Linked DNA regions of Homo sapiens: all the other regions are linked to region 2. Evidence: promoter capture Hi-C in 16 types of primary human blood cells and fetal thymus (Javierre and others, 2016). All regions are on one chromosome and are shown on one strand. The core of a region is centred on a gene start or on the middle of the fragment in contact, and the rest is flanking DNA. Distances in the headings are between cores, read along the strand shown.

Region 1 (2,700 bases), core at 127-2,626, 220 kb before region 2:
TGGATGGAGCCTCACCCTACTGGCCAGTGAAGAACTGGACAGTCTTTGGGGTGGAGGAAGGATGCTTACTTGTGTGGTGGGAGGTGGCTGCACTTTCTCAAAGGTCTCTTGAAAGGAGCGAAGCTGGTTACTCGTCCGGCCCAGTGCGTCCTCCACCAGCTTCCTGAAGGCAGGCTCTGGGACGTGGTGGTGGGGCAGCTAAGTGGGGACAGACACTGTCAACAGAGCTGGGCAAGAGGGGACAATGAGATCCCTGGCTTGCTTTGGGTTTATATTATTTTCAACCCAAGGAGTTCTGAGTGATACTCTGTCCTGAGACCTTGACCCTGTGCAGGATCTCTTGCATTTTCGTCAGACAACCTAGGAGTGAGTGAGATGCCACAGCTTGTCACCAGATTCACAGCTTGTCACCAAACTCATTGTTCTTAGTGCTGACCTAGAGCCTTCCTCCCACCAGGATTCAGGGAGATTGAGGTTTCTGCCTGCAGCCTTTTCCAGGCTCCACAGGGACAGGCCACATGCATGGACCACAGGACACAGATAAGGCAGGCTGGCAGCTGTCACCAGCAGACTCTGATGGACCAATCAGGAAGCGCCCTTACTTTCTGCTTTTATAAACGTGACCACCTCTCTACTGGCATCCCCAAACACTCCCTAGCTCTGCACATCCCAGATTTAATGCAAGGGGTTGGGGGCAGCCCAAGAGAGAAAACCTCTAGGCTACAGGAGAGGGAAAAGATAACCTCATCAGATTTACTCTTCTGCCCTCAAGGAAGAGACAGTTCTTTTACTGATGGTTCAGGCCTAATTCAATTTGCAGAGTGTCTGGGACAGAACTCTGTGAGGGCCAAAAAGAGAAAAAGCTTGCAGTCCCAGTCCCCATGCTTGAGGAGAAACACATTCATGGATTCCTGCAGCAGAAGGCAGGCTCTGAAAAGTACTAAGCACAGTTCCATCCACAGGGCTGCTGGAGTACAGAGGATAGGGAGATGACTTCTCCCCCTCAGGAGATGGGGAGCTCTGAGAGCTTCATGGAGAGACTCATTCATCTGCCACTTGTTTGGGGAGCTCCTACTCTATGCCAGACACTGAAAGTGCTCAGGGACAATGGAGAGGGGCATTCTAAGCTGAGGCAGGTGTCTGTGCAGAGTGGCCACATCCAGCAGCTGTGTGCTGGAGGGGAGGGCTGTGGGCTAGAAAGGTGATGGGGTGGGGAAGGCAAATCTTAGTAGAGTTTTCATGCAAAGAATTGGATGGGGAAAAGCTGAGCTGGAGACTGTGACACACAGGAAACAGTGTGTGATATTAGGAGTATTGAAATTGCTCCCAAGGTGGGACCCAACAGCAATTCAGCTCTCATGTTGACATCTGAGAGCAAGATCTGGAAGCAGTTGGGTGTTCTTTCTTGTATCAACTCCAGTCTTCCAAATTCTAAAATCAAAGTTTGCATTTGGAGGTTTATCCAAACCTCTGTGGAACCTATTTATGCTTTCAGCCGGTAGCTCCTTTTACAGGCTCTTGAGTGTTGTGGTTCAGAGTCCAGGCCCTGGAGCTGAACTGTCAGAGTTCAATGCTTGCTATTAGCCGTGTGGCCCTAGACAAGCTACTTTACCTCTCCGTGCCTTGGCTTCTTTATTTTTAAAATGAGTATAATTATACCTCCTCTGTAGGGTTGTTGTGAGGATTGAATGAGATCATGCATGGAGAGTGCTCCAAACAGGTACATCCTAAATACTCATGAGAAGATGGCTGCTGGAAGTAGTAATAGTAACACCGGCTTGAGACATTTACTCCTTACTGTGTAGAAACGACCTTCTGTCTCTGTCATCAACTTCTAGTACACTCCAGAGATCAGTCCCAAGATCTGCCATTGTATGAGCAAAGCTTCTTCTGCTTCTGAGTTGCAGGACTTGGGAATGGTCTGAAATCTCAGTCCTATCCTTGCTTTCATGGTCTGACTTCACTAACAGAGGGAGACTGGGCATGAGAGAGATCTGGAAGGTTCCCACTGCCTCTTCCTAAGGGCCTGATGACCTGTTTTCAGGCCCATCCTCCCTCCATCCTAGCCCCTACACACAGCTGGCTGATGGGGCTGCAGGGCCTTGCCTGGCTACTCCCCACAGGTGTCCAAGTCTCAGAGGCCTTACCTGGGCCATGCTTCCCTCTGCCCTCTGCAGCACTTGCTTTGCAAGGTCCCTCTGGAGGGTCACGAATGTGCACATGATCTGGCCCAGCCACTGCATGACCAGCTGGTTAAACTGTGGGAGCTCAGCCACTAGCAGCGAGTTGAGTGCCTGGTATGTGTGCCGGGCGGCCTCCTCCTGGTAGGTCACACTGCCCACCTCCAGCAGCTTCTCTTCCACCCGCTCAAAGTCCAGTAGCTTGTCCAGACGCTTCTTGATCAGGTTCTGAGGGCCAAGCAGGGCTTTGGCCAGGCTGCACAGTGGCTGCCACACCAGGCCTTCTAGCCGTTGCTTCTGTGGGGAGACATGAGCGTGGGAGTCGGGAAAGGAGGTGGCAAAGGGCAGGGGCTGTGAGAAGGGGCTTTGGAAGCATGCAGGCCTGGATTCCAGTCTAACTCCCACTGACTAGCTGGGACCTTTAGCATGTTATCTAACTTCTCTGGGCCTCAATCTGCCCATCTGAAAAATGGGGACGATGCATGTAATGAGCTTAACAGAGTGCTTAGCACAGAGTAGG
Region 2 (2,774 bases), core at 263-2,762:
GATGGCCTTGGGTCTTGTGTGACAAGAAGCGGGAAGGTGGAGGGTACAAGACAGAGGCCGGTGCTAGAGGACTGTTCTGTTCTGGGCTCCGGATGTGGCCAGAGTGTTTTCAGAGGAGCCCGACTCCATGCTGTCTGTACATCTTCAAGTTCCAATCCTAAGCCCCTGCCTCTACCCAGCCCTGCCTCCCATCACAAGCCTCCTGCATTCCTCTAAGTCCCCTGGCCCCACTGCTTCATCCCGCGAAGCCCTCTGCCATCTTTTCCATCCCTTACCTACTTCCATGTCCCACATTCCTGTGTGGTTGAATCCAGAGATCAGTCCTTTCCCCACCAGAGGCTGGTTGCAGCCAAGTTCATCTGGAGGGCTCGGGGCACCCCTCTGGCCAAGCCTTCAGTCACAGAACCTTCAGCTACTCTCCCTCACTCAGGCTCAACCTCCAAAAGCTCCCACAGGACTTCATCTGCTTGGACTCCAAGCTTGTGGTCAAAGTTCAGACTCGGCTCAGGGACCTCCTGGGGGAACTTCCCAACACTGGCTGTCCCTCAGGCACAAACAACTCAGAAGCCACATCTGCAGAGGGACCATTTTGTCCAATGGCCTTGCTATACAGATGGGAAAACTATGGCCCAGAGAAGGGAGGGGGCCAGCCCAAGACCACAGAGCCGGGCACTGAGAGCAGAGCTGGGGCCGGAGCTTAAGTGCCCCCGTCTCCTCTCACCAGCATCCCTTCCCATTGCTCCATGTGCAGTCAGCACCCAGCCTTCCCAGGATCTCTGCCTGCCTGCCAGAGCCTGAGCTTACATTGCCTCTTCCCCAGCTTTGTTTCTCGAAACCATTATTTGAAAACCATTTTCCTTGCCAGGAGCCCCAGGCTCTTGGAATTACAAAATCAAAGCCCCACACAATGAGGAAGAAGCACTGCCTATGTAGAAGCCAGGGAGACTGCCTGAGACTCGGGTGCCGAGGTGAAGCTTGGGCTGATAGGATGTTAACTCTGTGCACTCCCTCTGCACCTTCTTCCCCCAATTGACTACAACAACAAGGAATCCTAGAAGCCAACAGGACCATAGAACTAGAGCCGATCAGCTGGATGGATGCTTAGAGATCATTGACTCCAGCCCCTGTACAGATGGGGAAACTGAGACCCAGAGAATCTGTGTCCAGAAAGGGACAGAGCCAGTTAGCAAGACAGCAAGACCCCCAGATGCAGCATCCCCCTAGGGAAATTCCCAGAGGCCCCCACCCACGGATCCCAGGTCTGCCGTTGGTGCTTACCTTTCCTGGGGTCTGGTCCAGGTGTGGCTCCTTGGGGCCTGGAGACGGGAGCCAGCCTGTTTGGGGAGTGGTTGGGGGTGTCACTGCTTCTCAACTAATTAGACCCAGCCTCTGGTGCCCCTCGCTGCCACAGGGGCATTTTTAAGCAGCTGGCACTGAGCCCCCCTCCCCTTAGTCCCTTGCCTGCGGCTCCCTGGCCACAGAGGCCACTCTGCCTTTTACCTTATATGAGCTGAAGAGGCAAGCCCCGTATTGGGGCGAGGCGGGTGCTGAGCCCTCCCAGGGCCCCCCATTGGCCCAGGCACCCCCCACGTGACTACCTTGCCTTGACCTGCCCCCGGTGCTGAATGTTGCTTTTACCCCCTAAGGAAGGAGTGGTTGACAATTTTCATATTTCTTCTAAATTTGGAGATTTCAGACAATGCTGGGAGCCTTGGCTCCAGCCACCAGAGGCCCATGTGGAAGTCATTAAGCCTGAGAAGGGGGGCAGGGGAGAGAGGGAGGCAGGGAGAGGAGGAGGAGGAGGAGGAGGAGGAGGAGGAGGAGGAGGAGGAAGGGGGTGGGGAACAGAGTTCTGAGGGTTGCCAGTTGTCAGCCTGGGAACAAGAGCAAACTCCCTGGGAGAAAGCTGTGTGAGAATTTCCTTCCTCCCCCAGCCCCTGTGTCCCAGGACTGCAGTGGGAGTTCTGAGACTTTCTGGGAACCTCCAGTAGGGGAGACACCAGTCCTGGCTCCTGGAATCTGGGTGATGGGAATTGGGGGAACAGGAGAACATGGGGAAGGAGAGCCCAGACCGTGGGAAGCTACTCCCATCATCATGCAAACGAGGCCTGGGCCTGACAGGGAAGATCCTGACCCAGCCACCTGGCAGGGTCACCACAGGGCAGGGGTTTGAATGTGGAATGTCCTTCAGGGGGCTCTCTTTTCCCTGCCACCGCAGTCCTGAGAAATGCCCATCTCTTGCCGGAGTCCCTCTTTCTCCTTTTGCTTGGCCACCTTGGCCTCCTACAGATTCTTTAGTGTTTTTCATGCCTCAGGGCTTTTGCACTTGCATTGCTCGCTGCCAAAAATGCCTTCTTCCCAGAGCTCATGCTGCTCCTTCCCCTGCTCCTGTCTCCCACTCAGAAGTCTCCTCTGGAAGAGCCATTCCCTGGCCCCCTCAGTATTCTGTCACACCCTCTGCTTGCTTCCCGCTTCGGACTCGCCACGCATGTGCCTATCTTACATGTCCACGGTTCTAGTTTCTTGCTGGCTAGCTCTTTCATGAGAGTGTGACTTCCCCTGGCAGGCTCTGTGTCCCCAGGCTTCCTAGAGTGTCTGTGAAGAAAGGTCAGAAAACACAAATCAAGGGATCACGTGAACCAGGCCTCGGCTGCCAGCCTAGGAGTGTCGTGCTGAGGCCCATGGAGGTCTTCTCCCAGGGGCCAGCGGGGCCTGCTCCCAGGGCTGCCACCGGGTCCTGCCTTCCACTGCGCAGAGCTTCCCTTCTGCAGCCA
Region 3 (2,700 bases), core at 21-2,520, 190 kb before region 2:
TATATCTATATATAGATATATATATATGAGATTTATTTTTTCTGGAATTCTGTTAGAAAAGTAAAGAAAAAGCAAATGCTATTGATTTATCTCAGGGTACCCAAAGAGGTTGTAGTCAATTTTTGGTACTAGGAAAGGCAGCAAATGCATTTCCTGACTTTTAAGCATTTCCTTGTTGGAAGCCATAGAGGGCCAGGCCAAGTCGCTGACAGTGACTTTGTGATCGAATAAAGAGACCCTTGAAGGGGAAGCAGGAAAAAAAGAAGAAGAGGAGGAAGAAGAAGAAGAGGAAAAAGAAAGAAGAGGAAGAAGAAAGAAGAGGAAGGAGAAGAAGGAGAAGGAGAAGAAGGAGAAGAGGAAGAGGAAGGAGAGGAAGAGGAAGAAGAGGAAGAGGAAGAAGAGGAAGAGGAAGAAGAAGAGGAAGAGGAAGAGGAAGAAAGAAGAAGAAGAAGAAGAAGAAGAAGAAGAAGAAGAAGAAGAAGAAGAAGAAGAAGAAGAAGAGTCAGTTTAAGCAATCTGTTCCAAACTTGAAAAGGGCTTGTTCATTAGCTCACATAGGTCTCCCAGTGATTATTCCGCTCACCAGTTAGCCAAGGAATACACTAAGACTCTAAGCCATGGAAGACCTTGATGGAGGTTGCACGGCCAAGGAAAAGAAGTACTGGGGCTTACATCCAGGTCTGTCAGACTTCACATCTACCACGCTTCCTTTCTGTCAAGCTTGCCCCAGGAATGGATGAGAAATCTCAGAAGCTGGGACCCACATTTGCCCCTATAAAGACAGGTTGTGTGTGACCCCACCCAAGTACCTGCTGGAGGCGGCTCCTGATGTCAGAGGCACAGAGCTGGAGCATGTGCAAGTAGGAGACCTCAGTGTCGATGAGCTCCCGGACAGCCAGCCTCTGATGAAGCAGCGATCTGTCCTCAGAGGCCCTACCTTCCCTGTCCGGACTCCCTGACCTGGAGGATGGCTCGTCGGCTCCATGCTTGGCCATGTCAGCAGGTTCTGGGAAAAGCAAAAGCATCCCCACTCACTTCCAGGAAGAACTATTGGGACATGCTGTCTCTAATTCAATGACAATTACTCATCAAGAGGCCTAAAAACATCTTAAGCTGCAAACAGAGTCAAGATGAACTGTTTATTAGCATTTGTAGGCAGTACCTGAACAATATTGAAAGGCAGGTAACAGCTCTGATAACTCTTGACATTTTAGGTGGTGGCTCATGCCTGTAATCCCAGCACTTTGGGAGGCCAAGGTGGGCAGATCACCTGATGTCAGGAGTTCGAGACCAGCCTGGCCAACATGATGAAACCCCGTCTCTACTAAAAATACAAAAATTAGCCAGGCATGGTGGCGGGCTCCTGTAGTCCCAGCTACTCAGATACGCTGAGGCAGAAGAATCACTTGAACCCGGGAGGCAGAGGTTGCAGTGAGCCAAGATCACACCACTGCACTCCAGCCTGGGCAACAGAGCAAGATTCTTACAAAAAAAATTTTTTTTTAATAGATAATTCTTGACATTTTGAATTCATTTCCCAGGACCCAGACAACATGCTTGCCTGGCTTTTCTTCTATTTCCAATCCAGCTCTTGACCTAGATTTCTTTATCTGGTACAGCTGAATCTCTTTCACCCTCTCCCAGTGGTCCCCCTACACCCCATCCCACCAGCTACCCCATTTAGGCCTTACTACCCATCGCCTGGGCTATTTCCACAGCCCTCAGAGTCATCCTTCCTAATCCACACTGCTCTCCTGCCACCACCACACCCATTCTTTCTGGACACATTTCCAGTTTAAACTCCCTGAAACAAAGCTTGTGAACATGGTGTGCCCTGCTGTAAGACTTTAGTAGCTTCCTGCTGCTCAGTGATCTGATTCCAACCTCATTTCCCCTTCACAGACTGCACTCCAGGCTCTAACTTCATTTCCTCTTCACAGGTTGTACTGCAGTGGAAAGAGAGTTGAGCGCTCTTCTCCATACTTGCATTGGCATTTCCTGCTTTTGCACTTGCCATGCCCCCTCCTGTGTTCCTATCCCCCAGCATTCACTTCTCTAAGGCTACTCTTGATCCTCCCCTCATTTCTCACTCCCACCAGCTGCACTTTTCTTCTCTGAAACTCCTGCAATCCTTTATCTCTAACTTATAAAGTATCAAGGGCCCGGGTGCGGTGGCTCACGCCTGTAATCCCAGCACTTTGGGAGGCTGAGGTGGGCAAACCACCTGAGGTCAGGAGTTCGAGACCAGCCTGGCCAACATGGTAAAACCGCATTTCTACTCAAAATACAAAAATTAGCCGGGTGTGGTGGTGCACACCTGTAATCCCAGCTACTCGGGAGGCTGAGGTAAGAGAATCACTTGAACCCAGGAGGTGGAGGTTGCAGTGAGCCGAGATTGTGCCACTGCCCTCCAGCCTGGGTGACAGAGCAAGACTCCATCTCAAAATAATAATAAAGCGTAAAGGGCAATACCATGGACAAGATGATCTGAAAAACTTTCCTACTACAAAACACTTAGGAATGCTAGATCAGTTATAATAAACTTTTTAACTGCATGACAGATCTTGTAAGGGAGGAAAAGAAATCACTAGGGCCCTCAAACAGGGAATTGAAAACTACGGTGGGGAGCAGCTGAGCTGATGCAGCTGTGGCCCAAAGTAGAGGGGTGGGTAAGGAAGACAGTATTTGAAACTCAGTGAA

What was found. The method cuts DNA at HindIII sites, captures the fragments that hold promoters and counts their contacts. A CHiCAGO score of 5 or more calls a contact.
Region 1: a fragment that was not itself captured here is called in contact with the fragment with the promoter of CARMN in region 2 in 3 of 17 cell types (endothelial precursors, M0 macrophages and M1 macrophages); the score reaches 6.1 in endothelial precursors.
Region 3: a fragment that was not itself captured here is called in contact with the fragment with the promoter of CARMN in region 2 in 5 of 17 cell types (M1 macrophages, megakaryocytes, M2 macrophages and 2 more); the score reaches 7.8 in M1 macrophages.

Annotation. Positions count from the first base shown.
Region 1 is chr5:149,621,510-149,624,209 of GRCh38, reverse strand. It overlaps ARHGEF37 (Rho guanine nucleotide exchange factor 37), which reads right to left. Exons shown (of 13, transcript NM_001001669.3): 9 at 2,148-2,477; 10 at 70-198. Among named protein-coding and RNA genes, the nearest start is that of ARHGEF37, 41 kb to the right of the region's middle. The HindIII fragment of the contact is 1,021 bases long and covers 866-1,886 here.
Region 2 is chr5:149,405,583-149,408,356 of GRCh38, reverse strand. CARMN (cardiac mesoderm enhancer-associated non-coding RNA) reads right to left here and starts at 1,512. Exons shown (of 5, transcript NR_105060.1): 1 at 1,279-1,512. RefSeq lists an enhancer at 23-1,023. The HindIII fragment of the contact is 6,163 bases long and covers 977-2,774 here.
Region 3 is chr5:149,596,065-149,598,764 of GRCh38, reverse strand. ARHGEF37 (Rho guanine nucleotide exchange factor 37) reads right to left here. Exons shown (of 13, transcript NM_001001669.3): 2 at 810-1,006. The coding sequence starts at 995. Among named protein-coding and RNA genes, the nearest start is that of ARHGEF37, 16 kb to the right of the region's middle. The HindIII fragment of the contact is 1,095 bases long and covers 723-1,817 here.